Regions from separate parts of the Homo sapiens genome. Here regions 1, 2, 3, 4 and 6 are each linked to region 5. The links are contacts of gene promoters, found by promoter capture Hi-C in blood cells and fetal thymus (Javierre and others, 2016). All regions are on one chromosome and are shown on one strand. The core of a region is centred on a gene start or on the middle of the fragment in contact, and the rest is flanking DNA. Distances in the headings are between cores, read along the strand shown. Region 1 overlaps CCDC88A (coiled-coil domain containing 88A). Region 2 overlaps CCDC88A (coiled-coil domain containing 88A). Region 3 overlaps CCDC88A (coiled-coil domain containing 88A). Region 4 overlaps CCDC88A (coiled-coil domain containing 88A). Region 5 holds the start of CFAP36 (cilia and flagella associated protein 36). Region 6 overlaps CCDC88A (coiled-coil domain containing 88A).

Region 1 (4,608 bases), core at 2,006-4,505, 190 kb after region 5:
TTAAACTACCATTGTGCTTAATAATCATCTAGTATAAGCATTTGCAGTACTTGTGCTTTCAAGTGTCTGTGGAATAGGGCTGCCGATTCTAGAGTCCCTGAGTGGAGTTGGCCAGGAAATGGAGCTGTCCTCTGACCTACCAAAGAGGGAGAAATGTGGTGGCAACCACACTGTCTTGGATATTACCAAATTTGTTTTCAGCTCTTTAATGTTCATTCTCATTTTATGTTTGAGGAAACTGAGAACTGCATAGATTAATTGACTTATTTTTGAAATATTTATTTATTTGAGACAGGGTCCAGCTCTGTCACTCATGCTGGAGTGCAGTGGCACAATCATAGCTTACTGCAACCTCGAACACCTAGGCTCAAGCAATCCTTTCACCTTAGCTGGGACTACAGGCATGCACCACCATGCCCAGATAATTTTTTAATTTTTTTTTTTATTTTTTGGTAGAGACAAAGTATCACTATGCTCCCCAGGCTGGTCTCAAACCCCTGAGCTGAAGTGATATTCCTGCCTCAGCCTCCCGAAGTGCTAGGATTATAGGTGCCAGCCACCATGCTTGAGCATTAATTTTTTTAGAAGTTAAATTATTTGTTTATATCATCCAGGTACAGTCCTCAGACCAGCCATAAAAATGAAGGTTTCTTTAGAGATACAGAACCAAAATTCTAGACTAAGCTTCAATCTTCATTTTTCCAAGCTTGTTGAGATTATTTAACACACTAAATTTTGAGAATCATTGTATTAGATCACGCTATAAATTGGATGAATTAGTTCCCAAATGTACCCAGTGATTTTTGTGATTTTGATGCTTCCTACTTAGAATTCTTTTTGGGAATGAATACACACACATACAAACCCATATATACACATGTAATACAGCACATATTTACTGAGGACCCACTGTAGGCATTGCAAAGGTTACTTAGTAAAAGTAGAACCTTATGTTCTCAAGGAGGTATGTGTGTGTGTTACCTGTATTCCTATTTGAATTTGAAGCATGTAACTGTAAATAATCTGAAGACCATTATGATTAATAGAAAATACATTTCTCAACCGTTCCTTTAAACTGTGAACTTCCTAAAAACATGAACTTTAATGACCTCACAGTAAGTGTACACAGTGGTCTTCAGTAAATGACCTCACAGTAAGTGTACACAGTGGTCTTCAGTAAATACTTGTCAGAATTAAAAGTAAGACATGTTCTAGCACCCTTTTTTTGTTCCCCTTTTCTTGGTAGTTTTTGGAAGAGATAAACCATAGTTAGTTTTTCCTCAATTACAGCTTTTAATTATTTTCTTTTCAAATTAGATTAAGATACTGGAACAGGAAAATGAACATCTGAATCAAACAGTGTCTTCCTTAAGGCAGCGGTCCCAGATAAGTGCAGAAGCAAGAGTGAAAGACATTGAAAAAGAAAACAAAATTCTTCATGAATCTATCAAAGAAACAAGTAGCAAGCTAAGCAAGATTGAATTTGAAAAAAGACAAATTAAAAAAGAATTGGAACATTATAAAGAAAAAGGAGAACGAGCTGAAGAACTTGAAAATGAATTGCATCATCTTGAAAAAGAAAATGAATTATTACAGAAAAAAATAACTAATTTAAAAATTACTTGTGAAAAAATTGAGGCCTTAGAACAAGAAAATTCAGAGCTAGAAAGAGAAAATAGAAAATTAAAAAAAACATTGGATAGCTTTAAAAATCTGACCTTTCAGTTAGAATCCCTAGAAAAAGAGAATTCCCAACTTGATGAGGAAAACTTAGAACTGCGAAGGAATGTAGAATCTTTGAAGTGTGCAAGCATGAAAATGGCTCAGCTACAGCTAGAAAACAAAGAACTGGAAAGTGAAAAAGAGCAACTTAAGAAGGGTTTGGAGCTCCTGAAAGCATCTTTCAAGAAAACAGAACGCTTAGAAGTTAGCTACCAGGGTTTAGATATAGAAAATCAAAGACTGCAAAAAACTTTAGAGAACAGCAATAAAAAAATCCAGCAATTAGAGAGTGAACTACAAGACTTAGAGATGGAAAATCAAACATTGCAGAAAAACCTAGAAGAACTAAAAATATCTAGCAAAAGACTAGAACAGCTGGAAAAAGAAAATAAATCATTAGAGCAAGAGACTTCTCAACTGGAAAAGGATAAGAAACAATTGGAGAAGGAAAATAAGAGACTCCGACAACAAGCAGAAATTAAAGATACCACATTAGAAGAAAATAATGTGAAGATTGGAAATTTGGAAAAAGAAAACAAAACCCTATCCAAAGAAATTGGTATATATAAAGAATCTTGTGTCCGTCTGAAAGAACTAGAAAAAGAAAATAAGGAGCTTGTGAAAAGAGCAACTATTGATATAAAAACGTTGGTTACACTACGTGAGGTAAATATGTTTACCTAAATTAAGGCAAATTTTTTTTTATATTTTTAACTCAAGGTTTCTTTAAGTTTTATTGGAATCTATCAGTAATTTGCATCATTTATTTTATGGTTCAGTAGAATTTTGGAATTAGAACTAGAAATAGCTTCCAAGTTTCCTACTTTGTTAAACTAAGAAATACCTATAAATTGTATTTTTAAAAGAATTTGTAGTAATAAAGTTTCCTAGTGGTATCTGACTTATTACATTATAATTTTAAACCTTTATTTCAATATAATAATGTTTGATCAAGACACTAAATTCTAAGTATAATAAAGAAGCATGATAGCTACTATTTATTGAGTGCTGTGTGCCAAGTACTGGGCTAAAAACTTCATATAAGTTGTATATACATAAATAATATATACACACACACCCAAATATATATACACACATATATACATGCACATAATCTTTACAACTAATCCTTTATAAGTATTATATCCATTTTTTAGATGAGAAAACTGAGGTTCAGAAACATTAAATAAATTAGGATCACACAGCTAATAAATAGCAGAGTTGGATTACTGGATTCAAATCCAGATTTTTCAGACTCCAAAGCCCCATGAATTTTGACCTCAAAGCCAGAGAATGCAAATCAGGTTCAACCATTCAACACTGAGCAACTAGTATTTGCTTGAATCTATGTATCAAGAAGAATTCTGAAACTTACAGGAGTAAATTGGCAGTATGTCCTGTGAAACATGGTTGATGCAAGTCAGAAGGTATATGTTTGGCTCTTTTTTTCCCATCTCTAAGCATTATAATATGTGATAACCCTTTAAGTTCAATTTAAAAGTATATTAGCATTCTGGCAGAAGGTCACATTGGGCAGTCTGCATTTCTGCTAAAGAAGCATTGAGAGGGACCTTTTATTTTTTTCTTCTGTAGACTTATAAACATGAACAACAAGTTCCTTGTGCCTAAACTTCTAAGAACATCCTCTAGTTCTTCAGATCAGTATCATAGGGCCTCTTTCACTGGGAGAAGGGATCTTGTGGGAGAGAAGTATTATAGTCAACATATATTTATAAGAAGAAATGTGCACTAAAGTTCAGGCTCATTATTAAAAAGTAAATGGATATGATTTTCCCCAGTTTTCAAACCTAAATGTGTATTCACAAGTAAAGAGTTACTACTCCCTTTTAAGGTTTTGTTTAAAGTATTAGCAAAAAAAAGGAAAAAAGTTATTTCAACTAGGTTATAACTTTAACTACATTTTAATAATGAAGGAATGGTTTAATGACATTTCCTGGTTCAAATTACATGTATTCCTAGATGGTGGTAATTAGAATCTTAGCTGACTTTCTTAGATGTTTATACCCTTGACACTTAGGTGAGTTTTGCATTTCTTTTAAAATAAGGATTTGGTGAGTGAAAAGTTGAAGACCCAACAGATGAACAATGATCTCGAAAAATTAACTCATGAGCTTGAGAAGATAGGGTTAAATAAGGAGCGACTCTTACATGATGAACAAAGTACTGATGACAGGTGAGTACTAAGTCTACTTGGCAAACAGTTGAAAATTTTTTTTTTTTTTTGCTCATACATGAATTCTTTCTGTACTAGCTATAGAAAACATTTATATATTTCACCCTATTTCTGGTTCCTTCCTTCCCTTAAGGAAAGTTCTGTAGCCGGGTGCGGTGGCTCACACCTATAATCCCAGCACTTTGGGAGGCTGAAGCGGGCGGATCACCTGAGGTCGGGAGTTCGAGATCAGCCTGACCAACATGGGGAAACCCTGTCTTTACTAAAAATACAAAAAAAATTAGCTGGGCATGGTGGTGCATGCCTGTAATTCCAGCTACTCAGGACGCTGAGGCAGGAGAATTGCTTGAACTTGGGAGGCTGAGGTTGCGGTGAGCTGAGATCGTGCCGTTGCACTCCAGCCTGGGCAACAAGAGCGAAACTCCATCTCAAAAAGAAAAAAAAAGAAAGTTCTGTAAGGAGAAAAGAGGAATCATAGACAATCTAATATAGATATAAGAAAACAAAAAACTAAAATGTTACTATATAAATACAGTTATAAAATAGGAAAACAGGATGCCACCCAGGTAGCAGAAGATCAGAGGCTATAATTGACTGTAAAAACAGAATAAGACATTAACAACAAACAAAAATAAGCAAGTTATTTTTTATTTGAATCATGTGCTTAAATATCTCTGTTCTTTATTTGCCAA
Region 2 (4,411 bases), core at 1,399-3,898, 230 kb after region 5:
AGTGCTCCAGCACAAAATATCTGAAACACTGGAGAGTCGACATCACAAGATCAAAACTGGTTCCCCTGGAAGTGAAGTTGTTACTCTACAACAGTTTTTGGAAGAAAGCAATAAGCTTACCTCAGTACAGGTTAGTTTTATCTATGATGACCTTAATTTAGATGAACACCACAAGTTAAATTTCTGTAATTGAACTTCAGAGCTTTTTTTTTTTGGTAAGTTAAGGAGTATTAAGAGGTACCACAATTTTATATTGCACAGTCTGCTAAATCAGGAAAGTAAAAACATGGCACTATATTCACTAATCTGCTTTGAATTTTTTTTTAAACAGATAAAGTCCTCAAGTCAAGAGAATCTTTTAGATGAAGTAATGAAAAGTTTGTCTGTCTCTTCTGACTTTTTGGGAAAAGACAAACCAGTTAGCTGTGGTCTGGCCAGGTCAGTAAGTGGAAAAACCCCAGGGGACTTCTATGATAGACGGACAACTAAGCCTGAGTTTTTGAGACCTGGTCCTCGAAAAACTGAAGATACCTACTTCATTAGTTCTGCGGGAAAACCTACACCAGGCACTCAAGGAAAAATAAAATTAGTAAAAGAATCTTCTCTGTCACGACAATCAAAAGATAGTAACCCTTATGCAACTTTACCTCGTGCAAGCAGCGTGATCTCAACTGCCGAAGGAACTACACGAAGGACAAGCATCCATGATTTTTTGACCAAGGACAGTAGACTGCCTATATCAGTTGATTCACCACCAGCTGCTGCTGACAGCAACACCACTGCAGCATCTAGTGAGTACCATTTACACCAGTGGTCCTCTCATATACTTGACATCCCAACACATACTATAGGTTCTTGTGCCCAAAATGATTTAGCTATAGACATGCCTGAGCCTCTATATGCCCAGGCTAGAAACTCAAGAACAGGAAGGTCACATTTTCTAAACCAAACTTTTGCCACTATTAGGATGCCTAGTGATGCATTCGGAATGTTGGCAAAAGATAGCATAGGACCATTTACTGTGGCCCATTCATCTCAGCCATTCTTATCCCTGAATACAGAATTAGTTAGTAACATAAGTGGGTTACCTCCTAGGCCAGTTATCAGAATAACTGACCAGGCTTCTGCCTCTTTGGATAAACCTGCACAGAAAGAAAATGAACAGTTTTCTGATCATCAGAACCCTAGTAACAGTAACCTACAGTTTTCTATAAATAGCAACAATCTTGTCACTTCTGCATGCCTCTATCCTGATGACACAGAAGCTGCATTGTTGGTTTCTGAGGATAATCAAACTGTTTGGTATGAATATGGTTGTATATGATCAAAACTGCACAATATAATATATTGATGTTATTTGATATACACTGCTTCTCTAATATGATTTGAAAAGTTGCTGTTAACAAAATATCATTTGGCTAGGTTTTTATTTTTTATTTAAAATTGTTGCACAGTGTTCAGCTGTACATGATGGCATGTATATTAATGTGAATGTGTAACCACACCAAAACCTGCATGAAATATTAATTACTTTGTCCATTTTCTGCATGCCTTTAAAAACCTTAACCATACATGCTCCTCCTTCACATTTTTTGTTGCCTGATAAGATTGTTACTTTGATATCCAGAAGCATGTTAAAACAGTTGCATGCTCTCTTACCAAGAAGACATTTCCAAGTCATATTTGCTTTGTTGCTTCTGGAAAAAAATGTTCATTTCCTCCCTCCCTTCCTCCTCTTCCCACCCCTCACTTGCTCTGACTGTCACTCCTTTTTTTCTTCCAGAATGTGTACTTTATATTACATATGTACAGTATCAGTAGGGAAAATGTAAAAAGATGTTGTTTTCTTTTGTCATTTAATTAGGCCATCTGTCCTGTTTTAAAGAAATAGTTAATAATTCAACACTTTATATAACAAATATTAACTAATACCCATATTTATAAAACATTTTTCAGATTTAAAAGATTGTTAATACTTATAAACTTAGTGTTATTCTTAGAAAACCCCATCAAATTTAAATGTGATTTACACAGTGACTAGGAACATTTGTATTTATTGTTTCTTCTCTGCACTTTTCATCATCTGATAAATACAAGAGCTCAAGTAACTGTCTTTTCTTCAAGATGGCTTCTATACTTGAAATCAGTTAATACAATAGTTTTTCCAGTTCTTTTTTTATAGAGAGTCAAAGAGAAATAAACCAAATTATATTCATTGTGTTGGAAATTTGTATTTTTACTTCTAATCAAAAAGGGTAGCAAGTTTACAAAGTGGTAAAAATTGTTACTTCTATAATTAATCTATTATTAAATTATACATGTATATCCTTAAAACAGAATTTTTTTTAAATGAATAATCACACTAAAATGTAAAATTAGAACTTGTAACCATTTAAACAAGTATGTTTCTAGTAGAACAAATTTTAGAACTAAGAATAAATACACTCTTTAGCTTAAAAAAAAAAAAAAAAGTAAGAAAATATTTGTTAACTTTGACTCCAGTGCAAAGAACTTTTATTTTTGTGTTCACAGCACTTTTAAAGCAAATTAGCTAAATTTGAATCTCTAACTCCCAGATTGCTAAAAACAAAAAAACCCATAACCCTGATCCATTTACTTCCAGAGAAATACACATTGGCATTCTCTCTGGAATGTTTTTTGCCATTTGGATTTAGCCTATAGCTGATAAGGACTCAGCCTGGCACCTGGAAGGAATGCCTTCAAATGTGACCATGTGGGGATGAAATTATGTTATACTTGTTGTTGTTGTTGTTGTATTAAGTGGTTATTAACTGGACCAAAGAAAAAATCTGTAGAGAATATTTCCTAATGAAATTTGTCTCCTTTGTAATCACACTTTTTTTCCGATAGCTATTACAAAAAAAAAAAAAAATGGTTCTGGTACAGGTAATCAAATGAACACAATCAGAGGATTGTCATATTTTAGTACCACCTAATATACTTTTTGCATCCTTCTATTTTATTGTCAGTTACTTCCCAGTCAGTCCTGACATTTCAAATATATTTGGTGCTAATATTTTCCCTTTTGTTTTTTCATAGGCCAGTAACAAAACTTAATAGTAAACATAGCTGAGATTAAATGGGGGCAGTATATGACACAAATGTTATAATTAGTGTTATTTCTTTTCCACACTGAGTCAAAGATTATTTCACAGCTATTTCAACTTTTTAGATATCATAATTCTGACCATAACACTTCAAAATATTGTATTTATTCATTCAAAATTCATTGAAAAATCACATGCTATTATATTAAAATTATGTGATTATTTTACAAAATTAGACTTACAGAAAAGAACTATTTCCTACCCAAAAAGCTATATGTTTATATGCAGCATGTTTCCAAAAAAAAAAAAAATACACTGTGCATATAAGAGAAATATGTATCATGTCCATGTGTCCTGAGGACTGTTGGAAAATACAGTCTGGACTTCAGAAATCATCACCTGCTGTGGAGTCATAAAATTCCCCCCAAAACACCACTAGTTCTTTTTGTTTGTTTGTTTGAGATGGAATCTCACTCTGTAGCCTAGGCTGGAGTACAGTGGCGTGATATCATCTCACTGAAACCTCTGCCTCCTGGATTCAGGCAATTCTCCTGCCTCAGCCTCCCAAGCAGCTGGGATTACAGGAGCATGCCACCACGCCCAGCAAATTTTTGTATTTTTAGTAGAGACGGTGTTTCACCATGTTGGCCAAGCTAGTCTCCAACTCCTGACCAGCTTCCCAAAGTGCTGGGATTACAGGCGTGAGCCACTGCGACTGGCCACAACACTAGTTCTTATCAACGTTTTTTCATAGCATTTGGAATCAAATTTTTAGTGGTGAAAATACCTTAGAAATCATATGGAACCGATGTGTCCCAAACATTTAAGAAAAAAAACAATACTTTCTGTAAGTGAAATCTTACATAGATGCCCCAAATTTTAAAAAATGAATTTCATTTAAAGTAAAAGTGAAACAACTCTGACTCAATTGAGCAATTGCACTTATTTCCTCTAAGACACCTCCAGTTTTCAAAAGGATTATTTGTAAAACTATTCGAAGATTCAGTACCCTAATTTTATAAATGATGAAGCTGGATAGCTTTCAGTATTCCTGGCCTAGCTTTCTAGAAATTATAAACATATTCTTATGCACTGCATCCCCTTTGACCAAAGCAATTTTAGCTTTAACCAATGTAAGGAGGAACATTATTTGCCTATAAAATATGCATCAAGCCCTGGTTTTCTTAGTAAATAATACAAATACTTCATTCCAGATGGTTTTGCTACTACATGCAAGATTATGTTTAAGACTGTAGGTGACCATTTAGTAAATAAACATAGTAAGGCTATCTGGCACTAAGAGGGGGGGAAATGTAATTGTTATAGTTTTTTTAAAAATTATA
Region 3 (4,495 bases), core at 1-2,500, 140 kb after region 5:
TTTGCATATCATCAGTGTCAGTGGTTGTAATGGCAGATACAATGTATTTCTTCATTTCTTCAAAGAAGAGGTGGTATAAACAGAAGGTGCATACTTGATGTATTAACTAAATTGAAGAATTAGAAAGAATTCAGTTCTTTCTGAATCACCTTGTACGTTCAGAATCTACATGTATTCTTGTAACTAAAGTTTTATAGAAGTTAAACATCTGTTGTAGAGGAGAGAAATAATGTTTCACTGAGGAGGAACTGACTTTCATGAAATGATCATTAGACAGCATTTTTAATAAAGCAGTTAGGTTTCTTAATTTTAATATCAGTTGACATTTTAAAAATATAGCTCTCTTATTTATTATATTAAAAATATGGCCTGGTGTGGTGGCTTATGCCTGTAATCTCAACACTTTGGGAGGCCAAGGCGGGTGGATCACTTGAGGTCAGGAGTTCATGACCAGCCTGGCCAACATGGTGACACCCCATCTCTACTAAAAATACAAAAATTAGCCAGGCATCGTGGTAGGCGCCTCTAGTCCCAGTTACCTGGGAGGCTGAGGCGGGAGGATTGCTTGAACCCAGGAGGCGGAGGTTGCAGTGAGTCAAGATCACACCACTGCACTACAGCCAGGCTGACAGAGCGAGACTCCATCTCAAAAAAAAACCCAACATATTTATACATACATACATATATATATATATATATATATATATATATATATATATATATAGTACAGTGACAGTACTTATAAATTTGATGTATTTTTAGTTTCCTCAGTGAGAACTAACAAGAAGAAAAAGAGCACACATGCTCGAACTTTTATTGAGGAATGTTTCTTAATTTTGCTCGATCTTTTACTGAGGAATGTTTCTTAATTTTCTAGCACCTAAAACTTCAGATTTCCAAATAATAATTAGACCATTTTGACTTGAATGCTTTAATTTGGGGACATCTGATATTTTTAAAGCTTTTTTATTATTATTTGTTTGTGTGTAGAGATGAAGGTCTCACTATGTTGCCCAGGCTCATCTTGAGTGATCCTCCCACCCTGGCTTTCCAAAGTGCTAGGATTACAGGCATGAGCCATCGCACCCAGCCTCATATATTATTAACTGAAGTCTATCTGGTATTATAATTTTAGTTATTTAATTCATTGAAGTTACAAAAGATTTAAGACCTTATATAACTTTTTCCATATTTGTTTAATTGCAATATAGCACACCTACAGAAGAATGTACAAATCATAAGTTATAGCTTGATGAATAATTATCTAGTTAGCATTACCCATATAACAAGTGTTGGATATTTTTTTACAGGAGACTTTGCAGCAATTGATCATGATGTCGTTGCCAAATGTCTTAATCATTGGCAAAAATCCCTTTTCTGGTAAGTATTAAAATTAAGCTGTGAAAGTAATGTCTAACCTTTGTGTAATACTATGATGTTTATTTTTTACTAAGAGCTTATATACATTAACTCACTAGATTTTTCACAACTGTAGACGTTGGAGGTGATGTTCCATTTTATAGAAAGAGACAAGCTTAGAATATTTGTAAGTTATAGGTAAGACCAGACATAAATTTTACATTAAATTCAGTATTTTTTCTACTATACCAAACAGATACTTTTGTGATGATTTTTAGTGTCTCATTATAGAGAAGTATAGAAGATGATGTAGTTACAAACTTAAAAGAATATTACCTTAGAAAAGAAATGATTTTGAAATAATTTCCAGGTTTCTATTCATATATCTACTATCTACCATTGCCAAAATTGTTTGAATCTTAAGTTTTACTGATTGATATGTTTTATTTATTTATTTATTTATTTAGAGATGCAGTTTCGCTCTTGTTGCCCAGGCTAGAGTGCAATGGCATGATCTTGGCTCACTGCAACCTCAACCTCCTGGGTTCAAGCGATTCTCCTGCCTCAGCCTCCCAAGTAGCTGGAATTATAGGCGTGGTCACCATGCTAATTTCTGTATTTTTAGTAGAGACAGGGTTTTACCATGTTGGCCAGGCCAGTCTCGAACTCCTGACCTCAGGTGATCTGCCCGCCTCGGCCTCCCAAAGTGCTGGGATTAGAGGCATGAGCCACCACGCCCAGTCTGATATGTTTTAATTTATATTAAACTTCTTCTGAATGGAAAGATGAGAGGCAGTTTCTTAGATCATTTAATTTTTTCTTCAAAATGTTCTGCCCTTTATACCACATTTTAAATGTGATATTTTAGAATTGTAATTTTTGAACAGTTGAGGAAATTAGCAGCTACCTAACAGTTTCAACAATGGGCTTATCCTTACAGTCTACATGTTATCCAAATTAGTGTATTTTCTTCAGCCCATACCCCCTCTCAGTCAAAACAAACAAAACCAAAATAAAAACTAAAATCAAGTAGCTATTTTTATAGAGGAAACTATTAATTAGATGTGTGAATTAGCAGCTTAGTTTTTAGAGATACCATGGGATGTTTGATTATATAAATTTAAAAATGAAAAAAATTGCGTGTAGGATGGAATTGTTTCCCATCGTACATACATTTGGTAAGTACCTACCAAGTTACTGGGACCAGGAGTGGAAATAAATGGTCTATGTTCTAGAAGCTCTTATGGTTTGGTGAAGGATACACAGATTATGGGGAAATCATGTAATAATTAGTATGAAGTAAAAATATGTACCAAATGTTCTGGCATATAAAATTTGGAGCCATTAATTATTCTTAAAGTTGACGTATAAGTGAGAGTGGGGGACCATTGATGATTGGATCAGGGAAGACTACACAGAGATGATAAGAGCTGTGCCTAGGATTGTGATTAGCAAGTAGTTCACTAGGGGGATGAGGAGGTTGGGGAAGGAGGACAGACAGAGGGAGTAGTATTAAGGCAGAGGAGTTGTATATATGCATATTTGGGAAGAATGGTGATTAATGGCTCAGCATAGCTAGAAAGTAGGTTGTTTCATGGAGAGTAGAAGGAAATGTCTGATAAGAAGATTTGGACTTTTTCATAGACAGATTGGCCCAGTGGTGAAAATCTGGCCCAAAGAAGTGATTTTTTTCCAGTTGAATATTTTAAGAAAATCTTAGTTGAATGCTGTTGGACAGGGAATATTCTCTCCATTTCTGTTATAGATTGTTAACTTTTACCTGACTTGTTATATACATTTATTTTAACAGCCTCACTGTAACAGACATTTAAGATTCTGGTCTTCATGAACTTGCACAGTGGAAAACCATTTAAATTTTATAAGGAGATGAATCATAAGATCTGTGTTTTAAGTAAGAAAACACTAATAGGCCTAAGAGGAGCCAAACCTATTAGGAGCCATTTTGGCTACCTTTGTGGCATGTCCCTGTATCAACCTGATTTGGCAGGTTCTTGATTTGTCAGGCTGGGGTAGTACAATCATTTATGGAAAAGGAGTAGATTCATAGTTAGCATACTTGTTGCACAGAGCCTTGAAACCTCTTTATCCATTAGCCCTTCAAAATTGATATTCTTCCCCATTTCTTCTGCTGTTACCACCGTGTACATACACAGAGCTGCTATTTTGAATGCTCCACTACATATGCTTAGACTGAATCCTTCACTCAAGTTACTGTGCATAATTACCTCTAGAAGTGATTCTCCAAATATAATAGAGTTGAAAATATAGCAGAATGTTGTCCTTAATAATTGTTTCTATTTTAGAACAAGGCACAGAAGAAGTTAAAAAACTGCTTTTACTTTTATTGGGTTGTGCAGTTCAGGTAAGTTAAAATATTTTTTCATATTTTCATTTTAACAACCTCTTTATATATTTTTATCAGGCTGTAGTTTCTGAAAGACTTAAGGATGGACCATTGGTTTTCAAAGTCCATGTTAGAAAATTTTCAATAACTGTATAACCTCCTAAGGAGATTACATTGAAAAAAACCACTTATTTTATTTCAGAATTTAGTTACATTATCATAGTCATATCATTTAAAATATTTAATTACTCTTTTCCTTATTCTGAGGCTTATAATGACCTTAAATTTTTGAGGTTTTTTCAGAGGTGCCCTTAAAAACCGCTCCCAAAACATCCTTGTGATTTATGTTGTACTCGTGTATGTTTCAGGAGAAGGGAAGGGAGAAGAGAAGGGAAGGGAGGAGGCAGAATTTATTTAAAAGAAAAAAAAGGTAAAAAAGGAGGCAGAATTTATGAAAAGTGTTTTAGGAATCTTGTTTATTATTATATTGCTCTTTGATCAATGACTATAATAATAGCTATGATTTATAGAATACCTACTTTGTGTCAGATATTATCCCTTACATAGATTTTCTCATAATATCTTCTTTCAGGTCAGGAGATTGGGTAGGGTAATATTTAAGTTTTTATCGAAATTGGGACACTTGCGAAAGTCAAAGAAGGTACTGTTAATAATTATAGAGTGGGCTAGGCGTGGTGGCTCATGCCTGTAATCCCAACACTTTGAGAGGCTAAGATGGGAGGATCACTTGAGGCCAGGAGTTTGAGACCA
Region 4 (4,149 bases), core at 1,382-3,881, 170 kb after region 5:
GGAAAATTTGAAAATAAAAAATAACAGCTTTCATTTGTGGATGTCTGCATTATTATGTATCTATTGAAATGAACACGCCCAGGATATTCTATAAACAGCTGCACCAGGAAAATTAGGGAAGAGATTGCTGTTATTAGTTTGACTGGCAGTTAATGGATAGTCTAAATAGTGAACACTAGTTTGCTCCATATAATTTAGCACAATCTTCTCCAGTCTTTAGATAAAGCATGCAATTAGAACCGTAATGATGGCTGTGAATTCGTTTAAGGTTTTGCACTGTGTTCAAATTTAATTTTTAAATAAAATTTACTTGGACATAGAGTATATTAAAATTCCAAACAACTTGAGGAGATTGATGAAATTTGGTTTTCTAATACTGATTAGAAAATGTAAATGGATATTTTTAATGGGTAAATAAATGTGCCAGTATTGTAACTAGTATTCCCGGTAACTAGCTTTTCAACAAATACCATCTAATATCTTCATTGCCCTTTGAAAATGTGTTTCTTTATGGATTTCTTCTATTATTAAAAAGAAGTAAATCTCCTATTAGTTCTTTTTATTGGGACAGATCTCTACTAAAGTGAATGAAGTGCAGAAATCATGGTAGACAAAAACAGCAGGTTGCCTTATACCAAATGGAAACTATACAATAAGTAATTACAATCAGAAAGTGCAAATTAACAGCATACTCATTTATGGGGCAGTACATTATGATATAATTGCTTTTGATTTATAAACATATAGAGTAAAAGTATAATTTGTGATATGAGTGAAAAAAGTAATTTTTAAATTTAAAATAGCAATTTCACTTTTATGCAGTAGTTAATACTACCAAAGACTCCCTTTAACTCTGCCTCCATAAATCCCATGTTTTGAAATAATTTTTCTAATATAAACTATTCATTATTTTTCAAAAAAATAAAAGACTTATTGAGATATAATTCGCAGGTCAGAAAATTCATCCTTTTAGAGTGAACAATTCAGTGGTTTTTTTCATAGAGTTTATTCATAGAGTTGTACAGTCATCACACACCAATTTCTTGTTTTTTTGTGTTTTTTTGTGTGTTTTTTTTTTGAGATGGAGTCTCACTCTGTTGCCCAGGCTGGAGTGCAATGGCGTGATCTCGGCTCACTGCAACCTCTGCCTCCTGGGTTCAAGCGATTCTGCCTCAGCCTCCTGAGTAGCTGGGATTACAGGCATGCACCACCACGCCTGGCTAATTTTTGTATTTTTAGTGGAGACAGGGTTTCACTTTGTTAGTTAGGCTGGTCTTGAGCTCCCGACCTTCTGATCCACTGCCTCAGCCTCCCAAAGTGCTGGGATTACAAGAGTGAGCCACTGTGCCCAGCCCACACACCAATTTCATGACATTTTCATCACCACAAAAAGAAACCCCATATTCAGTAACAGTCACTGTCTGTCCCCCTTTGCCCTCAGCTCCTGGCAATCACTAGTCTGCTTTCTGTTTCCATGACTTTGCCTATTCTGGACATTTTATTGTATAAATGGAATCATACAATACGTGCCTTTTGTGACTGGCTTCATTTATTTAGCATAACGTTTTCCAGGTTCATCCATGTTGTAGCATGTATCAATACTTTATTCTTTTTAGAGTTGAGTAATATTCCACTGAATGGATATACCGCATTTTGATTAGCCATTTTTTGGTTGACAGGCATTTGAATTCTTTCCAGTTTTTGGCTATTATGAATAATGCTGCTATGAACATTCAGGTGCATGTTTTTCTGTAGACATCTGTTTTGAATTCTGCATGTTAACAGATGAATGGCCAACATTCAACATTGTGAACATAATTAATGCTGCTGAATTATATGTTTAAAAATGGTTAAAATGAGGCAGGGCATGGTGGCTTACGCCTATAATTCCAGCACTTTGGGAGGCTGAGGCAAGAGGATTGCTTGAGCTCAGGAGTTTGAGACCAGCCTGGGCAACACAGGGAGACCCGTCTCTACAAATAATTTTTAAAAATTAGGGGTGTGGTGGCATGTGCCTGTGGTCCCAGCTACGTGGGAGCTTGAGGCAGGAGGATCACCTGAACCAGGAGGTCAAGGCTGCAGTGAGCTGGGACTGCACCACTACACTCTAGCCTGGGTAACAGAGTCAGACTCTGTCTCAAATGGAGGAAAAAAAAAACCTGAAAAAAATTCTAAATACTTCTGGGTCCCAAGCAGTTCAGAAAAGGGATACTTAATGTGTTTCAAATGCCTTTTAACTTGTAATGCACTTTTAGAAATCTGTCCTAAAAGCCAGGCACAGCAGTGTGCACTTGTAGTCCCAGTTACTTAAGAGGCTGAGGTGGAATTCTTGGGCCTAAGAGTTCAAAGCAAGGCTGGGCAACATAGTGACATCCTCTCTCTTAAAAAAGAAAAGAAAAAGAAAACTATCCTGAAATACACAGGATTTTATGTATAGTAATGAGCTTATTTACTAAAAGATTATATAGTACAATGAAAAATGGAATCCACTTAGTAAAGTATGGTTTCTCTAGCAAAGGGAATATTTTTCTACCATTAAAAATTATGGTTTTGGGCTGGGCACCATGGCTCATGCCGGTAATCCCAGTGCTTTGGGAGGCTGAGGCAGGAAGATTGCTTGAGGCCAGGAGCTCAAGACCACCCTGGACAACAGAGTGAGACCCCGTGTCTACAAAAAATTAGCCAGAAGTGGTGGCACATGCCTATAGTCCCAGCTATTCCGGACGCTGAGGCAGGAGGATCACTTGAGTCCAGGAGTTCAGGGTTGCAGTGAGCTGTGATCATGCCACTGCACTCCAGCTTGGGCGTCAGAGTGAAACCCTGTCTCTTAAAATATATACATACATATATTTTAATAATATATTTTAAATAATATACACATTATATTTTATAATATATATTAATATATAATGGTTTTGAAAAATGTAAGGGCACGAGATGAGAACAATAAGTTCTATACAGTGAACATTTACTTTATTATTAAAGAACAGAAGGTAGAAAAGTAGAGATAGTAAGTGGAGGCTTATTTTAAGGAGCTTGACTGTGAAGGAGAGAGAGAAAATGGGAGATTAGAAGTAAAGCAATTCTAAGAGAAAAACTAATAGAAGAAATTTGAGGATGTTTATAGGCTACAGGGCAGAAACCAATAGCGAAGTAAAGATTTTAGTATCATATGGCAATTGGAAGTATGTAATTTCCTTTCAGCCATTGTAAATGTTGAAAATAGTTGGAGACCCTTACAAATCTTAGACACAGGTAGAACTGCCTTGCATAAAAATTCTTAGCTTAGGCTGGGCACGGTGGCTCACGCCTGTAATCCCAGCACTTTGGGAGGCCAAGGCGGGTGGCATCTGAGGTCAGGAATTTGAGACCAGCCTGAGTAACATGGTGAAACCCCGTCTCTACTAAAAATAAAAAAATTAGCCCGCATAGTGGCCGGCGCCTGTAATCCCAGCTACTGAGGCAGGAGAATTGCTTGAACCTGGGAGGCAGAGGTTGCAGTGAGTCAAGTTTGCGCCATTGCACTCCAGCCTGGGTGACAGAGCCAGACTCCGTCTCAAAAAAAATTCTTAGCTTAACTGTCTGTGACTGCAGAGAGTGAGGAAGAGAGAAAGAAGAGTGGAAATGGAAGGGCAGGAAAGATGAAAAGAGAGAAAGAGAAAAACTGTATTACATACTATGAGAACATTAGCCTTTGGAAAACATTAGGGAAGAGGTTTTATTAATGGCATCTAATTATATAAATTCCTAATATCTATCTTTTTTTTTTTATCTTCTAGATTAGGGTTATGGCTAATACTATGTCCAACTAGTTATTTAGTGATGATGATACATTTATATTAACGCAGATGATGATCACAGTTTTCAAAAATAGTATACTTAATGAATATATTTTTGCATTTAAGGGAGGAAAAGACTGAGCAGTTGTTGGATTGTAAACAAGAACTTGAGCAAATGGAAATAGAACTCAAAAGGCTGCAACAAGAGGTTTGTACCTGGAATATCTGTTATTTAGGACCACCAAGTAATTGGAAATTGATTTTCTTCCTTGTAATTTATAACCTTTACTTCAATGCTTTATGTAAATAAAAGAGGTTCCTGAGGCTTCAAGAGATTGGATGACTTTTTCAGAGTCTCTCTCTTCAAAAA
Region 5 (4,161 bases), core at 1,662-4,161:
CTGTAGTCCCAGCTACTCAGGTGGCTGAGATGGGAGGATCGCTTGAGCCTGGGGAGGTTGAGGCTGCAATAGGCTGTGATAGTGCCACTGCACTCCAGCCTGGGTGACAGAGCAAGACCCTGTCTCAAAAATAAAAAATAAAAAAATCACATGACAACCATGACGAAGTGAATAATTAATATGTCCCTGGATGCGTCAACAAAATAAGAATAAGATATAAAGAATACATGCAAGAACCCATAAAGAGTTGTAAAACCATTCCTTAGAGTAGAGGAGATAAGTCATCCAAATGAGATATTCAGAGCACCTGTGGAGACAGATATAACTGGCACTATTGTTAAGGTAGATTGGATTTTTGTAAAATTAAGGATTTTTAATGTAAAAATATTTTTCTTCATTTAGAAAAGCTATAAGTAGTATTAGCCTAATTACTTTTAAAAATCAGTGAAAAAAAATACTCACTAGTTCTTTGTATTCCTGATGAATCTCTGTATAGGTCAATTTGCTTTCTTCTTCATCATCAAAAACTAAATTTAAAAGAAAATATTACATAGTGTAAAAACCAAATCATTTTATTAATGCAAATTTAAAAATCCACTCCTTCCAAATAGAACTGTCAACCTAGCTCTTCAGCTTTGAATTCTTAGGGTTTATCTTTTAAAAATATATAAATGAATATATCTAAAAATATATACTATTGGCCGAGCACTGTGGCTCATGCCTGTAATCCCAGCACTTTCGGAGGCCAAGGTGGGTGGATCACCTACGATCAGGAGTTCGAGACCAGCCTGGCTGATGTGGTGAAATCCCATCTCTACTAAAAATACAAAAATCAGCCAGGCGTGGTTGTGCGCGCCTGTAGACCCAGCTACTCGGGAGGCTGAGGCAAGAGAATTGCTTGAACCCAGGAGGCGGAGGTTGCAGTGAGCCAAGATTGCACCACTGCACTCCAGCCTGGGCGGCAGAGTGAGACTCCATCTCAAAAAAAAAAAAGAAAAAAAAATATACACACACACACACACACACACACACATATATACTATTAATTGTAAACAAGCTTTTTTGCCTACTTGAGAAAATATTTAAAATGAATACTACCTCATATTTAAGACAAAAACACATTTCAATCAATATGAGGCAATAATTTCTTCATAACTTTTAATGTAATATTATTGTTAATGGTTAAATCCTTTTACAATAGGTTCCATATTATTTTATTGTACTGGAATTTTGCTGATGTAAATGTTACTGAAAGTGACCAGGCAATTTTTGTTACCACAGATAAATAATGAAGTTAAATAAAATCAAAACAAGTGTTTACTGAATGATCATATGTATAAAACAATGCAGTGAGCCAAGATCACGCCACTGCACTCCAGCCTGGGCAACAGAGCGACACTCTGTCTCCCAAAAAAAAAAAAAAAAAAGGAGTACAAATACAAGTTATTTTGTTTTTGAACATTGTTAAAAAATTACCTGTAAAAATAACACTTTAATAACTACGATTTGAATATTGATTATAGCAATGAAAATGTAATGAAAAGATTCAGTGGTCAAACTGAATTTCATCTTTACCAGATTCATGATATCTTGGAATTTAAAGAAGTCTTAAAAGGTCATCCAGGATAACCGACCATTTGATAGCTGAATAGCTGAATCCCTCTAACCCTATTAAGTCGCTATCAGATCCATTCAAACACTGCTGGAGCCGGGAAGCTCATTACCTTCTGAGGCTGGCTAACTCATCTTGGATACATTCTATCATGAAACACTTCCTTCACTGAAATTTGTTTCCCTGTAGCTTGTACCAACTGACCCTAGCTCTATTCTACTCAACCTTACAACACAAAGCAGATGTTCAAATAATTGATGAATACTACTACCCTCAAAGTCTTGCCCGATTAAACAACCACAATAACGCTTGGGCACTCATTTATATGACGTGGTTTCTGGTTCCTTTTCTGCGAATGGGCTGCAAATAGTCTCCACGAACTGAATGCAGAACTCCAAGCCTGAAGAACTGCTCAGAACCCGGAGATGCCTGTCCTTCACGGGGAATATTATGCCATATCTATACGCCTCATTTGTTCCAAGAATGGTCCTGCCCCACCTCGCCAATTTTTGGTATAGCGAAGAGTAGAGAGCTCACCAAGGGGAACACAGGCCACCAAAATCACCGGCTCTGGGCTTCCTGGAGTTATCACATGCCCTCCTTTGCAGTTAACTGTTGGTTTGGAGTGAAATCATTTCTCATTTCCTAAGCTGACTACACCGGGCGAAATGCTAGGGATCATAAGGAACTCAGGTAAACCGACGCTTCTCCTCTCAAGTCTGGCAAAGCTGTTGAAGAAGCCCAGCCAAACAGTCCACCTGCCGAGGGCAGAAACGTTCGGGACAGGGTGAGAGACCGAATTTACGATTCAAGTCTAATGTTCTTCGGACGTGCGCTTCGGCCCCAGAGAAGGGGAGTCTCGGTCCCCGTTTTCAGGTCTGCGAAGGAACACATTGGCAGGGTGAAAGGAATTCCTCCCACACAACCAGCTCTAAACCTGATGACGCGGGTGGAGAAGGTGGTGAGGGGAACGAGACCTTGCGACAGGGGTGGAGACAGGGGGTCGGGGAGACGAGAGATGGCTTGTGGTTACCAACCCCCTGCCCGCCGCTGGTGTGAGAGAGGAGAAAAGGATTGTCGGTTCGGGCTCTGGTTTTTACCTTCACATTTCTGTTCCACAAAGTCCAAGATGGGGATGGACCAGTCTGGGCCTCGCAGGAACCCCGCGATGCTCTCCACTACCCACTCCACCTCGTCTTCTTCTTCCGCAGCCATCCCGCCCCAAAGGGGCAACGGGGAAGATCCCTAGGCCAGACCGCCGGACCCCGGTTAGGCCTTTGGGCCACAAGGAGCCGAGAGGGAGTAGGGGAAGAGCTGGCCCGCAGTCGCTCAGCCCCCAGGATAGAAGCTACCAACCAGTTAATGCAAAATGGTCGCTATGGCAACACACGTAGCCGCCCTAGACCGCGGCCCGGAAGTGAAGACAACTTTCCAGGAGCCTGCGCACTTAGCGGGGAGGGCAAACGTTTGAAAAACGTTTCTGATTGGTTAAAAAAGAACAGTGGACGAGGGCTGAGAAAAGAAGTGTAGCTATTGGCTGGAAGTCATAGACAGATTGCGCTCTCTCTTCTGATAAATGCGTAGGAGCCAAGGTTTAGAAAACGCGCAGTAGACGGGCGCGGTGGCTCACGCCTGTAATTCCAGCACTTTGGGAGGCCGAGGCTTGCGGATCACCTGAGGTCAGGAGGTCGAGACCAGCTTGGCCAACATGGTGAAACCTCGTCTCTACCAAAAATACAAAAATTAGCCTGGCGTGGTGGCGCCGCCTGTAATCCCAGGTACTCGGGAGGCTGAGGCAGGAGAATCGCTTGAACCCGGGAAGCCGAGGTTGCAGTGAGCCACTGCACTGCAGCCTGGGAGACTGCGTCTCAAAAGAAAAACAGGAAGAAAGAAAAGAAAAAAGAAAAGGCTCAGTGAGGGTCTGAGGTAACCGGGTCTCCACCTGACAGGGCTTCAGCGGCTGCAGTTCATCATTGTATCCCCAGCACCTCAGTCCCAACCATTTTCAGACCATTGGCCCAGAGGCGTTTGTAATTAAAGGGTTGTCTGAAAATACAAAGCCGAGCTGTGTGAGACTCGCTGATTGTCTTACGGTCAGTTTGCATCTGTATCTTCAGGCGGGTCTTTAATCTCTTACGCTTGGATAAAGATAACTAGAATTAGGAGCTTTTCAAGGGCAAGAGCAAAGTTAATACTCACTTAAATAAATGCCTTGGTAACCAAATCTTATTATAACTCCAACTCAGCATTTAGGTGGAGTCCATTGTGGAATGGGGTCTTCAGTGGTCATTGTGAAGGTGTTTGGAGTCCCAAAATATCTTCAGACAACCATATATATATATATATTTTTTACATAAATAGGATTATATGTACAGTTATGAATTTTTTTCTTATATCTTTATCTTTTAAAAATATAAATTTGTGCTTTCTTTGCAACTGCATAGTATTCCATAAACCATCCTTTAGTCTATTTTTATTTTGTGAATGTGCACACAGTATCTTACCTGAATGCATGAAGATGATCATTATGTGCCTTTTTTTTTTTTTTT
Region 6 (4,559 bases), core at 1,813-4,312, 200 kb after region 5:
ATATGTCTATATATACACACATACATATGTATATATACACTTCCAAAAGTCAAAATTAAATGATAGCCTTATTCTTTGGGAAGCTAAAATCCACGTCTTCCCAGTATAATGTAAATATGTGTGCTGTGATTCATTTAGAGCTTTCTTTAATTAACATTGTAATCTTGTATTTTGAAAAAGAACATGAACTGTTTTTCTTATGTCTGATAACAATATATATTCTTATAGGTTGAAAATTCCACCCTTAATTCCCAAAGTACCTCACTCATGAACCAGAATGCCCAACTCCTAATCCAGCAGTCTTCCTTAGAAAATGAAAATGAATCTGTAATCAAAGAGCGAGAAGACCTAAAATCTCTCTATGATTCTCTGATCAAAGATCATGAAAAGCTGGAACTTCTTCATGAACGTCAGGCTTCAGAGTATGAATCTCTTATCTCTAAACATGGAACTCTGAAGTCTGCCCACAAAAATCTTGAGGTGGAACATAGAGACCTTGAAGACCGGTAATTTATTATATTTTGTTGTACTGTGAATTTAAAATGAATTTTCTTCAAGTAGTATAATAAATTTTATATATTAAACACATCTAATGTTAGTTTACATAAGAAATTTATATAAATTTACATGTGTTTTAAATGATACTCATTACTCATTTCCTTCATTTCTAAAATTTCTTTTTTGTAAATATTATAAACCAAATGCCTTTTTTCCCCCCAGTTACAATCAGTTATTAAAACAGAAAGGACAGTTGGAAGATTTGGAAAAAATGCTCAAAGTAGAACAGGAAAAAATGCTGCTTGAAAATAAAAATCATGAAACAGTAGCTGCAGAATACAAGAAACTTTGTGGTGAAAATGATAGGTAATAAATATATATTATATATAACAAACATTTTATATAGAAAGTATATACATATATATGTGTATATATATGTTTTTTCAAAATTATGTATTATTTCTTACATCCAAACTATATACTGCCCCTTTGTAGTACCAAGCATAGTTTGAATTCGGAATTTTAAAAAATAGAATAGGCTGGGTGCAGTGGCTCACACCTGTAATTCCAGCACTTTGGGAGGCCGAGGCAGGTAGATCACCTGAGTCAGGAGTTTGAGACCAGCCTGACCAACATGGTGAAACCTCGTCTCTACTAAAAATACAAAAATTAGCCAGGCTTGGTGGCGTGCACCTGTAGTCCCAGCTACTTGGGTGGGTGAGACAGGAGAATTGCTTAAACCTGAGAGGCAAAGGTTGCAGTGAGTCGAGATCGCGCCACTGCACTCCAGTCTGGGCAACAGAGTAAGACTCCATCTCCAAAAAAAAAAGAGAGAGAGAGATAGGATCTTACTCTTTTGCCCAAGCTGAAGTTCAGTAGCATGATCATAGCTTACTGCAACCTCAAACTACTATGCTTAAGCAATCCTTCCACCTTAGCCCCTCAGGTAGCTGGAACTGCTGGCACACACCACCATGCCTAGCTAATTTTTAATTTTTTTATTTTAATATTTAGTTTTTGTAGAAATAGGGTCTCCTGTGATCCCCACGGTTGCTCACAAACTCCTGGCCTCAAGTGATCCTCCTGCTTCTACCTCCCAAAATGCTGGGATTACAGACATGGACCATCAATAACCAGCCAATACTTTCTTATTAATACTTGAAACTTTGAGTACCTATACTTCAACATATTTAAAGACTAAAAAATTCTTTTCCCAGTGTGGAGATGGGTGGATGAAAAAAGGAAATTAAAAATTATTTTCAAGGGAAAGGTACTCAGAATTTTAAAAAATCTAGTTTTTACAGAATAGAAACTGATTTTTGATAAGTTTAGTAACTTGTAAAACAGTCTTTTATTCTAAGTATGCCTTAATGTTATTTATATCATTTCATATTGTATAAATTACACCAAAAGCTATTAAGATAATCTAATTATATTTCTATGATTTCTAATTATAGGCTGAATCATACCTATAGTCAACTTTTAAAAGAGACTGAAGTTTTACAAACTGACCATAAAAATTTGAAAAGTCTTCTGAATAATTCCAAACTGGAACAAACAAGATTAGAAGCTGAATTTTCAAAACTAAAGGAACAATACCAACAATTGGATATTACATCAACCAAGCTGAATAACCAGTGTGAGGTGAGCTTAAAAAGTTTAATCACTGTGTCCTTCATTTAGGCACCAAGACATGCCTAAGAAATAAATGACTAGATTACAATGACAATACTAGTATATATTTAGTGGCATATATCTAAAAGAATTTGGTCTAGGATCACTGAAACTTACATGTAATTCAGAACAACTTCCCATATCATTAATTACAATATTTTAAAAACTATTAGCTTAAACTTATGTCCAAATTCTTTGAAAATTGTAAAATTATTCATTTAATGAAAAAATGTTTACACCTGGCATGAAATTATAAACCAATAGAAAAATTAGCTGGAAACAACATACAATTAATTACCCAACAAAGCTCAGAAAGTAATTCATTCTACCTATGATTTATAAAAGTCCAAATAAATTATAGGATGGTATACCTCCAGAATGGTAGAGTGAGAAATGTGGCAAATCAACTCCTTAAGAAACAATAAAATTGGACAGAACTGTCAAAAACAACCTTGTTAGGACTCTAGAACCCAACAAGGGCATATAGCAAATTGAGAAGCATTTATTAAAGCAAAACTATTCAACCCTGGGAAGGAACTGTGGTTGTCTGAGGCATTTTATCTTGGGGTTCTTCCCATTCCTCTTCTCCTTCCCTGGTTCCTGTGCCTGGTAGTTTTGACAGAGCACAGGGCAAGCTGTGAAAAACAGCAACTTTTCTACTGGAGAAAACTGACTTGATTTGGAACAGAGCATAGAAAAGCCCCATGCGTGGGAGAGCTGTCAAAGGTCAGCTCTTAGATAGCCTGAGGTTGAAATATTGGTTGGGGCAAGTAACAGACCAGTAAACCAGTCAAAAATTAAAGGATTTTCAAGAAATGAGTCAGCCTCAGTGGGTCTTCATAAGATTCCACATGTCACTGGTGGTCCAGAAAACTGTTCAAGAGAGACCAGAGAGGGCCCTAGCTATCTATGCATCCCTGGCTAATTCTCACAATTTGGGTCAAATGTTAATTATTGGCTGAGGGCTAAGTCATATAATGACATGATTTAGTGGAGGTGGAAAAAACTAATCTATAGTATAAAAGGTTGAGATAGTAGTTAACCTTGGTGGGAAGGGATAGTGGTTGGAAGATAGCACAGGTGTTTCTGGAATACAATTAATGTTCTGTTTCTTGATCCAGGTGCTAGTTTAACATATATGTTTACTTTGTGATAATTCATTGAGCTCTATATACACTTAAAATTTGTTCTTGGACCAGGCACGGTGGCTCATGCCTGTAATCCCAGCACTTTGGGAGGCCGAGGCGGGTGGATCATCTGAGGTCAGGAGTTCAAGACCAACCTGGCCAACATGGTGAAAACGCATCTCTACTAAATATACAAAAATTAGCCAGGCGTGGTGGCACATGCCTGTAATCCCAGCTACTCGGGAGGCTGAGGCAGGAGAATCGCTTGAACTTGGGGGACAGAGGTTGCAGTGAGCCGAGATCGCACCACTTCCCTCTAGCCTGGGCGAAAGAGCGAAACTCCATCTAACAAACAAACAAAAAAAATTGTTCTCTTTTCTTTATATATGCTTTATCAGTTGTCTATTGACACTGATAATGCTCTTTAACAACGAGACAACCTTAGTGGTAATGGACAGTAAACATTTCTTTTTGCCTAATGAGTCTGAGTTTGCTGAGCATCTATGCTAATCTACTCACTGATGTATGGGCCAGGGGTTTGCTCCTGCATCTGTAATTAGCTGGCATGTACGCTGAGGGCTGGCTGGTCTATGGTGGCCTCGGTGGGATAACCCTTCTCTGTTCCATGTGGTCTCTCCATCCTCCAGCAGGGCTCTGAGAGTCTGAGTGGAAGTCCACAGGCAACTTGAGGCCTAGACTTGGAACTGTTACACCATCACTTCCACCTCTTTCTCTTGGCCAAAAGCATTCCAAATTCAAGAAGAAGGAAAATAGATTCCACTTCTTTACGGGAAAAGTGAGAAGTCACATTGCAAGAGGGCATAGGTACAGGGAAGAAAATAAATGCATTCAGTTTTTTAATGAATCTACCACATATGTTATGTTTCAATTTAACAACATACAGATAAATAAAACCAACGTAGTATGATATTCACAGTTACAGATCTAGATGGTTGTTTATGATTATAGTATAATTCTCCCTGATTTTCTCTACCTTTTGAAATTTTTCAAAATGTTTATTTTTTGCGGGGGGCGGCCGGGGTGGTGGTGTAGGCAGGGCGGGTATGTGTTATTTGCTTTTGCTTTTTTAATACAGATCTCTGGGCTCTACTCGAGACCTGAATTTGAATGCTGGGGCCCACAAATCTACTCTACAAGGGACGCCAAATTTTTAGAATCACTACTTTGGGCCTTCTGCTAACTTCTGTTTGAACCTCTGGCCTAGCTAAGGCATATTTCCAGTTTCTACTAACTGCGTAG

Evidence for each region. Contacts are between HindIII fragments. The CHiCAGO score rates a contact against its expected background, and 5 or more counts as called.
Region 1: a contact is called between a fragment that was not itself captured here and the fragment with the promoter of CFAP36 in region 5, in 4 of 17 cell types (M2 macrophages, M0 macrophages, M1 macrophages and 1 more). The highest score is 10.4, in M2 macrophages.
Region 2: a contact is called between a fragment that was not itself captured here and the fragment with the promoter of CFAP36 in region 5, in 3 of 17 cell types (M0 macrophages, M2 macrophages and M1 macrophages). The highest score is 9.0, in M0 macrophages.
Region 3: a contact is called between a fragment that was not itself captured here and the fragment with the promoter of CFAP36 in region 5, in 3 of 17 cell types (M0 macrophages, M1 macrophages and M2 macrophages). The highest score is 8.2, in M0 macrophages.
Region 4: a fragment that was not itself captured here is called in contact with the fragment with the promoter of CFAP36 in region 5 in 3 of 17 cell types (M0 macrophages, M2 macrophages and M1 macrophages); the score reaches 7.0 in M0 macrophages.
Region 6: a fragment that was not itself captured here is called in contact with the fragment with the promoter of CFAP36 in region 5 in 3 of 17 cell types (M0 macrophages, M2 macrophages and M1 macrophages); the score reaches 9.4 in M0 macrophages.

Annotation. Positions count from the first base shown.
Region 1 is chr2:55,331,874-55,336,481 of GRCh38, reverse strand. It overlaps CCDC88A (coiled-coil domain containing 88A), which reads left to right. Exons shown (of 33, transcript NM_001365480.1): 15 at 1,318-2,388; 16 at 3,789-3,916. The region is part of intron 2 of LOC124907768 (a long non-coding RNA gene); the gene reads right to left. Among named protein-coding and RNA genes, the nearest start is that of MTIF2, 65 kb to the right of the region's middle. The HindIII fragment of the contact is 5,094 bases long and covers 709-4,608 here.
Region 2 is chr2:55,291,977-55,296,387 of GRCh38, reverse strand. CCDC88A (coiled-coil domain containing 88A) reads left to right here. Exons shown (of 33, transcript NM_001365480.1): 30 at 1-130; 31 at 332-791. Among named protein-coding and RNA genes, the nearest start is that of MTIF2, 25 kb to the right of the region's middle. RefSeq lists a silencer at 1,561-1,855. The HindIII fragment of the contact is 5,061 bases long and covers 118-4,411 here.
Region 3 is chr2:55,371,699-55,376,193 of GRCh38, reverse strand. It overlaps CCDC88A (coiled-coil domain containing 88A), which reads left to right. Exons shown (of 33, transcript NM_001365480.1): 4 at 1,311-1,380; 5 at 3,684-3,742. Among named protein-coding and RNA genes, the nearest start is that of CCDC88A, 46 kb to the left of the region's middle. The HindIII fragment of the contact is 573 bases long and covers 964-1,536 here.
Region 4 is chr2:55,349,356-55,353,504 of GRCh38, reverse strand. It overlaps CCDC88A (coiled-coil domain containing 88A), which reads left to right. Exons shown (of 33, transcript NM_001365480.1): 9 at 3,906-3,987. Among named protein-coding and RNA genes, the nearest start is that of CCDC88A, 68 kb to the left of the region's middle. The HindIII fragment of the contact is 9,265 bases long and covers 1-4,149 here.
Region 5 is chr2:55,518,468-55,522,628 of GRCh38, reverse strand. It overlaps CFAP36 (cilia and flagella associated protein 36), which reads right to left and starts at 2,911. Exons shown (of 10, transcript NM_080667.7): 1 at 2,713-2,911; 2 at 463-527. The coding sequence starts at 2,827. RefSeq lists enhancers at 2,131-2,380, 3,561-3,610. The HindIII fragment of the contact is 7,670 bases long and covers 1,060-4,161 here.
Region 6 is chr2:55,313,511-55,318,069 of GRCh38, reverse strand. It overlaps CCDC88A (coiled-coil domain containing 88A), which reads left to right. Exons shown (of 33, transcript NM_001365480.1): 20 at 229-506; 21 at 721-864; 22 at 1,956-2,142. It overlaps LOC124907768 (a long non-coding RNA gene), which reads right to left. Exons shown (of 3, transcript XR_007086323.1): 2 at 3,819-4,082. Among named protein-coding and RNA genes, the nearest start is that of MTIF2, 47 kb to the right of the region's middle. The HindIII fragment of the contact is 7,677 bases long and covers 1-4,559 here.